Linked DNA regions of Homo sapiens: region 1 is linked to region 2. The links are contacts of gene promoters, found by promoter capture Hi-C in human tissues and cell types (Jung and others, 2019). All regions are on one chromosome and are shown on one strand. Each heading gives the region's core, a stretch centred on a gene start or on the middle of the fragment in contact. The rest is flanking DNA. Distances are from core to core; before and after follow the strand shown.

What was found. The method cuts DNA at HindIII sites, captures the fragments that hold promoters and counts their contacts. A contact is called where the count stands out against the background at its distance.
Region 1: the fragment with the promoter of FA2H here is called in contact with a fragment that was not itself captured in region 2 in 1 of the 25 tissues and cell types used here (dorsolateral prefrontal cortex).

Annotation. Positions count from the first base shown.
Region 1 is chr16:74,772,945-74,776,599 of GRCh38, reverse strand. It overlaps FA2H (fatty acid 2-hydroxylase), which reads left to right and starts at 1,780. Exons shown (of 7, transcript NM_024306.5): 1 at 1,780-2,114. The coding sequence starts at 1,845. RefSeq lists silencers at 1,474-1,533, 1,544-1,673, 1,684-2,053, 2,094-2,143. The HindIII fragment of the contact is 21,235 bases long and covers 1-3,655 here.
Region 2 is chr16:75,122,614-75,126,493 of GRCh38, reverse strand. It overlaps a transcript of ZFP1 not described here. Among named protein-coding and RNA genes, the nearest start is that of LDHD, 7.8 kb to the right of the region's middle. The HindIII fragment of the contact is 6,546 bases long and covers 1-3,880 here.

The sequences.
Region 1 (3,655 bases), core at 531-3,030, 350 kb after region 2:
TTTAAATATTACGTTCAGGTATTAGATATAGTGATGACTGAGTTTTGGGGTGCCCCATTAAATTTTGCCCTCGAACATTATTAAAAAGTCAAGAAACAGTAGATGTCTGCGTGTATGTAGTGAAAGGGGGATGCTTATGCTATGCACTGCTGGTGGGAATGTAAATTAGTACAACTTGTTTGGAAAACAGTACAGAGATTCTTTAACAAACTAAAAGTACACTTTGGGGCTGGGCGCGGTGGCTCACGCCTGTAATCCCAGCATTTTGGGAGGCTGCGGCGGGAGGATCACTAGAGGCCAGGAGTTCGAGACCAACCTGGCCAACATGGTGAAACCCCGTCTCTACTAAAAATACAAAAAAATTAGCCGGGCGTGGTGGCACGCGCCTATAGTCATAGCTACTCTGGAGGCTGAGGCAGGAGAATCGCTTGAACCCGGGAGGCGGAGGTAGCAGTGAGCTGAGATTGTGCCACTGCACTTCAGCCTGGGCAACAGAGTGAGACTCTGTCTCAAAAAAAAAAAAAAAAAGTGCACTATGGGAGGCCATGGCAGGCAAATCGCTTGAGCCCAGGAGTTTGAGACCATCCTGGGCAGCATGGTGAAACCTCGTCTCTACAAAAAATACAAAAATTAGCCAGGCGTAGTGGTGCATGCCTGTAGTGCCAGCTACTTGGGAGGCTGAGGTAAGAGGATTGCTTGAGCCCGGGAGGTCGAGGCTGCAGTGAACCAAGATCGCACCACTACTCTCCAGCCTGGGTGACAGAGTGAGACCTTGTCACGGGAAGGGAAGGGAAAGGAAGGGAAGGGGAGGGGAGGGGAGGGGAGGAGAGAAAAAGTAGATTCACCATTCGGTCCAGCAATCCCACCACTGGGTATCTACCCAAAGGAAAAGAGTCATTATATGAAAAAGACACTTGCACACGAATGTTTGTTTTTTGCAGCCCAATTCACAATCGAAAAGATATGGAACCAACTTAAATAACCATCAACCAATGAGTGGATAAAGAAAATGTAGTTGATATACACGATAGAATACTACTCAGCCATAAAAAGGAACGAAATGAAGTCTTTTGCAGCAACTTGCATGGAGCTGGAGGCCATTATTCTAAGTGAAAGTGATTCAGGAATGGAAAACCAAACACTGTATGTTCTCACTCATAAGTAGGAACTAAGCTATGAGGACGCAAAGGCATACAGAGTGATATAATGGACAATAGGGAGAATGGGAGGGGGTGTAACACACACACACACACAAAACCCTACACATTGGGTATAATGTACACTACTCGGGGGACAGGTGGACTAAAATCTCAGGACTTACCACTATACAATTCCTCCATGTAACCAAAAACCACTGGTACCCCAAAAGCTACTGAAATTTTAAAAACAAACAAATATTTGCACCCGAGGCGAGCACCTCATTCGCCTCTCGCTCTCTCGGGCACCTCCTGGAGCCAGAGGGTCCCATGCGGCCAGCTCCTCCGTGGAAGCAGTTGAAGTTATTCCAGCAGCGATCAGGCCACCGAGGATGTCCGCCCAGACAACCACCCGCGACGGGGAGACTCGCTCCGCCTGTGTCCGCCCACCCTCCTCCCGCGCGGGACACACCTGGCGGGCGCGGCACTCCCTGTCCGCGGCCACCTGGCGCGCAGCTCCCGGCGCCGGGCCCGCCCCTCGCGGCTCTGCCGGGGCTCCCGGCCGGCCAATGGGAGCGCGGTATGCAAATGAGCAGGTGCGGTGGCGGCCCGCCCGGAACGGCCGCGGGGCTCCCGGGATGTTAGAGGCGCTCAGGGTGGCAGCAGAGCAGACGCCGGGCTGCGCGCTGGGAGCTGCGGTCTCCGGCCATGGCCCCCGCTCCGCCCCCCGCCGCCTCCTTCTCGCCCTCCGAGGTCCAGCGGCGCCTGGCGGCCGGCGCGTGCTGGGTCCGCCGCGGGGCCCGCCTCTACGACCTCTCCAGCTTCGTGCGGCACCACCCGGGGGGCGAGCAGCTGCTGCGGGCCAGGGCGGGCCAGGACATCAGCGCCGACCTGGACGGGCCGCCGCACAGGCACTCGGCCAACGCGCGCCGCTGGCTGGAGCAGTACTACGTGGGAGAGCTCCGCGGGGAGCAGCAGGTACAGCCGGGCCGGGGCCCCCCACCCCAACCCAGGCCTCCGTCAGCCTTCCACTCCCGGGCGAGCCCCGTTCACTTGCCCTCTAGCAGGACCCAAGGTGACAGCTTCTGCCCTCCCTTCCCTCGCTTTCCCTCTCTTCTCTCCAGGCAACAGGTCACTGTCGTCCCCTCCAACCCCTCCTTCCTCTCTCCAGGAACTTGCTCTTCCTTTCCACCCTTACCGCCTGGCCCGCCTCCGTGCCAGCTCTCCCATTTCCCCAGCACCCCTCCTTCCAGCGTGTTCCTTCTGCAGCCCCTGCCCTCCGACAACCTGGATTCCCGTTTCTGTCCCCAGCCCCCCATACGCCTCGGCTTTCCTTCCTCTTCACTTATCGGCCTCTCCCTCTTTGCAACCACTCTCCGTTTCTGTTTGGATAATGGGCTCAACCTGTTCCCACCTCCCCATCCCACCTCACTTCTGCTTCAAAGAGGCACAGATCAGTAACTCTTCTCACTAGCTTGGGTTTCCTGGTGCCGCCCTGGCCTTGCCTGGGCCATGTCTGGGGTGGACTGTGTCCTCCAACCTCTCAGACCTTCCCTTATATTCTTGTCCTACACGCTGGCTTGGGACTCCAAAAGAGTGAAATGAAAGGCATGAGCCAGTTTTGCCAAGGAAAAGGGACCAGCACTTTGGACCAGACTGTGTGCTGAGCTGCACGCTTCTGTGCAGTACCAGCTCCCGATGGTATTTAAGTCCTTAACTCAACCTGGGGCAGGTTTTGTTATTCCCATTTCAGGATATGGAATCTGAGGCTCAGGGAGGCTCTGATTAATGCGCCTAAGGTCAAATAGCTAAATAGTGGGAAAGCCACATGTATCTGACTCCAAAATCAATGCTGGCTCCATCCCAAAAGTCTTCGGGTGGAGGAGACAGACCTAGTCCACAGGATTCCAGGTAGGCTCAGGCCAGAGGCAAAGCGACTCTCTTGATGTTCCCCAGGCCTGGCTCTGGGACTGGTATGGGGCCATCATGCTTAGATATACAGTAGTTCCCCCTTGTCCAAGGGGATACATTTCAAGACCCTCAGTGGATCCTTAAAACCACAGATAGTACCGAATCCTATATATGCTATGTTTTTTCCCATATATGCATATCTATGATAAAGTTAAATTTATAAATTAAGAACAATAGGAAGAGATTAACAACAACAATAATAGAATAGTTACAACAATATACTGTAATAAGAGCTATTTGTATGTGGTCCCTTTCTCTCAAAACATCTTATAGTACTGTACTCACTCTTCTTGTGATAATGTAAGATGATAACATGAGGCCAGGCAAAGTGGCTGACATCTGTAATCCTAGCACTTTGGGAGGCCGAGGTAAGAGGATCGCTCGAGCCCAGGAGTTCAAGACCAGCCTGGGCAACATAGGGAGACCTTGTGTCTACAAAAAATACCAAAATTAGCCGGGTGTGGTGGCATGTGGCTATAATTCTAGCTACTTGGGAGGCTAAGGTGGGAGGATCACCTGAGAGGTGGAGGCTGCAGTGAGCCATGATC
Region 2 (3,880 bases), core at 1,126-3,625:
AGGCAGAGGTTGTAGTAAGCCAAGATTGCACAATTGCACTCCAGCCTGGGTGACAGAACAAGACTCTGTCGAGGCGGGTGGACTTTGCAAGGCTGAGGTGGGCAGATCATGAGGTCAAGAGATTGAGGTCATCCTGGCCAACATGGTGAAAACCTGTCTCTACTAAAAATAAAAAAATTACCTGGGCATGGTGATGCACGCCTGTAGTCCCAGCTACTTGGGAGGCTGAGGCAGGAGAATCGCTTGAACCTGGGAGGCGGGGGTTGCAGTGAACCGAGATCGTGCCACTGCACTCCAGCCTGGCGACACAGCAAGACTCTGTCTCACAAAAGTAAATAAATAAATTAGTTAATTAATTAAAAGAAGAATTCATTTAACCAAAGTGATAACTCAAGGATTTAAAAAATACAGTGAAAACCTTCATTCTTTTTTTTTTTTTTTTTTGAGATGGAGTTTTGCTCTGTTGCCCAGGCTGGAGTTCAGGGGGTTGATCTCAGCTCACTGCTCACTGCAACCTCTGCCTCCCAGATTCAAGCGATTCTCCTTGCCTCAGCCTCCTGAGTAACTGGGATTACAGGCACCTGCCATCATGCCTGGCTAATTTTTGTATTTTGGTAGAGATGGGGTTTCACCATGTTAGCCAGGCTGGTCCTGAACTCCTAACTTCAGGTGATCTGCCCTCCTCGGCCTGCCAAAGTGCTGGGCTTACAGTCATGAGCCACCGCACCCGGCCTGAAAACCTTCATTCTTTAAGAGAAGAGATTTAAATGATAAGCCCTAGTAAAAACAACATGAAGCCAATTAAATTTGTTTTCCAAAATTTTATAAACAATTTATAAAATTTTCATCTTGATCATAAAATACAACTTCCAGCTGGGCACGGTGGCTCAGGCCTGTAATCCCAGCACTTTGGAAGGCCCAGGTGGGTGATCACTTGAGGTCAGGTGTTCAAGACCAGTCTGACAAACATGGTGAAACCCTGTCTCTACTAAAAAAATACAAAATTAGCCAGGTGTGGTGGTGCATGCCTGTAATCCTAGTTACCTGGGTGGGTGAGGCAGGAGAAATCTCTTGAACCTAGGAGGTGGAGTCTGCAGTGAGCTGAGATTGTGCCATTGCACACCAGCCTGGGCGACAAGAGCCAAACTCCGTCACAAAACAACAAACAAACAAACAAAAGTACATACAGGCAGATAGAAGGATGTGATAATTTTAATTAAAAAAAAATTTTTTTCGAGATAGAGTCTTGCTCTGTTGTCCCAGCTGGAGTGCAGTGGCATGACCTCAGCTCACTGTAACCACTGCTTCCTAGGTGCAAGCAATTCTCCTGCCTCAGCCTCCCAAATAGCTGGGATTACAGGTGCGTGCCACCATGCCTGGCTAATTTTTGTATTTTTAGTACAGATGGGGTTTCACCATGTTGGCCAGGCTGGTCTCAAACTCCTGACCTTTGATCCACCCACCTCGGCCTCCCAAAGTGTTGGGATTCCAGACCTTAGCCAGTGAGCCCAGCCCATTCCTCTTTCTTAAACTACCAGCCATTTTACTTTAGTACTAAATTTATCATACAAAATTCTTTCTCATATGAAATTATTTCTCTTTAAGCTTTCTTACCAAAAAAAAAAAAAAACCTCTTTATTTTTATAACTTTTTTTTACATCTCTTTTATTCCCTGGTTCCTTTTACCTTGCTTTTTTTTTTTTTTTTGAGATGGAGTCTTGCTCTGTTGCCCAGGCTGGAGTGCAGTGGCACCATCTCAGCTCGCCGCAAGCTCCGCCTCCCAGGTTCATGCCATTCTCCTGCCTCAGCCTCCCAAGTAGATGGGACTACAGGCGCCTGCCGCCACGTCCAGCTAATTTTGTTTTTGTATTTTTAGTAGAGATGGGGTTTCACCGTGTTAGCCAGGATGGTCTCGATCTCCTGACCTCATGATCCACCCGCCTCAGCCTCCCAAAGTGCTGGGATTACAGGCGTGAGCCACCATGCCCGGCCCCTTTTACCTTGTTTTATACATGACCTTTAAATTAGCTTTGAAGCCGGGCGTGGTGGCTCACGCCTGTAATCCCAGCACTTTAAGAGGCTGAGGAGGGCAGATCACCTGAGGTCAGGAGTCCAAGACCAGCCTGGCTAACATGGCAAAACCCTGTCTCTACTAAAAAATATCAGAATTAGCCAGGAGTGGTGGTGGGTGCCTGTAATCCCAGCTACTTGGGAGGCTGAGGCAGGAGAATCGCTTGAACCTGGAAGGCAGAGGTTGCAGTGAGCTTTGTACCACTGCACTCCAGCCTGGGCAACAGAGCAAGACTCTTGTCTCAAAAAAAAAAAACTTTCAATTAGACAAAAATTGTTCACCTTTTTCAAAAGGACACACTTATTTTTTATTTGTATTTTACTTTTTTTGAGATGGAGTCTCACTTTGTCACCCAGGCTGGAGTGCAGAGGCGCAATCTTGGCTTACTGCAACCTCTGCTTCCTGGGTTCAAGTGATTCTCCTCCCTCTGCCTCCCGAGTAGTTGGGACTACAGGTGCGTGCTATCAGGCCCAGCTAATTTTTTTTTGTATTTTTAGTAGAGACAGGGTTTCACCGTGTCGGCCAGAATGGTCTTGATTTCCTGACCTTGTGATGCATCCTCCTTGGCCTCCTAAAGTGCTGGGATTACAGGTGTGAGCCACCACACCTGGCTGGGACACAACTTTTTTTAAGAAAGAATGTTTTTGGCCTGTGTGGTGGCTCACACCTGTAATCCCAGCACTTTGGGAGGCTGAGGTGGACAGATTGCCTGAGCTCAGGAGTTCGAGACCAGCCTGGGCAACATAGTGAAACTCTGTCTCTACTAAAATACAAAAAATTAGCCAGACATGGTGGCATGCATCTGTAGTCCCAGCTACTTGGGAGGCTGAGGCAGGAGAATTGCTTGAACCCTGCACCACTGCACTCCAGCCTGGGTGACAGAGGAAGACTCTTTCTCCAAAAAAAAAGAATGTTTTCCTACATATATATATATATATATATATATATATATATATATATATATATACATATACACACACACACACACACACATTCTTATATATATATTTGTAGGAAAACATTCCACAAATATATATACACATATATATATATATACACATATATATATTTTAGACAGAGTCTCTGTGTCGCCCAGGCTGGAGTGCAGTGGCATGATCTTGGTTCACTGCAACCTCCACCTCCTGGGTTCAAGTGATTCTCCTGCCTCAGCCTCCTGAGTAGCTGGGACTACAGGCATGCACCACTGTGCCCAGCTAATTTTTGCATTTTTAATAGAGATGAGGTTTCACCATGTTGGCCAGGCTGGTCTCAAACTTCTGACCTCACGTGATCCACTCGCCTTGTCCTCCCCAAGTGCTGGGATTACAGGTGTGAGCCACTGCACTTGGCCCAAATATATTTTTATTGGAAAATACCCAAATAATAAAATCTCTATTATTTAACTTTAGATTCAAAATTATGAGTTTGTCTATATTTATCCTATAATATTTACTTATTTTATTTTAATTACTTACCTAGATTATTTATAAAAACTGTGCTTGTCATTATTTAAAATTATGGAACTGCCATTGCAAAATTATCACTGAGACAGTGAAAAAGATTGCACCTAAGTGACTCCATCTTGCTTCTAACCTCCAAGCTGTTCTTGTTCATTCCTGGGCATAGGCCAAACTAACTTTGGGAGGAACTTATAATTTAGCTTTGAAACAAAGATGATAACAGTGCTTTTCCAAAACAAACACTATTGCCTATAGACCGGACTGCCTAAAGCCACAAGATGAGAAGTTATGGTAATCTTACTAAATTTAAGATGTAGCTATTTTTATTAAACCAATATTAATGTCTTAT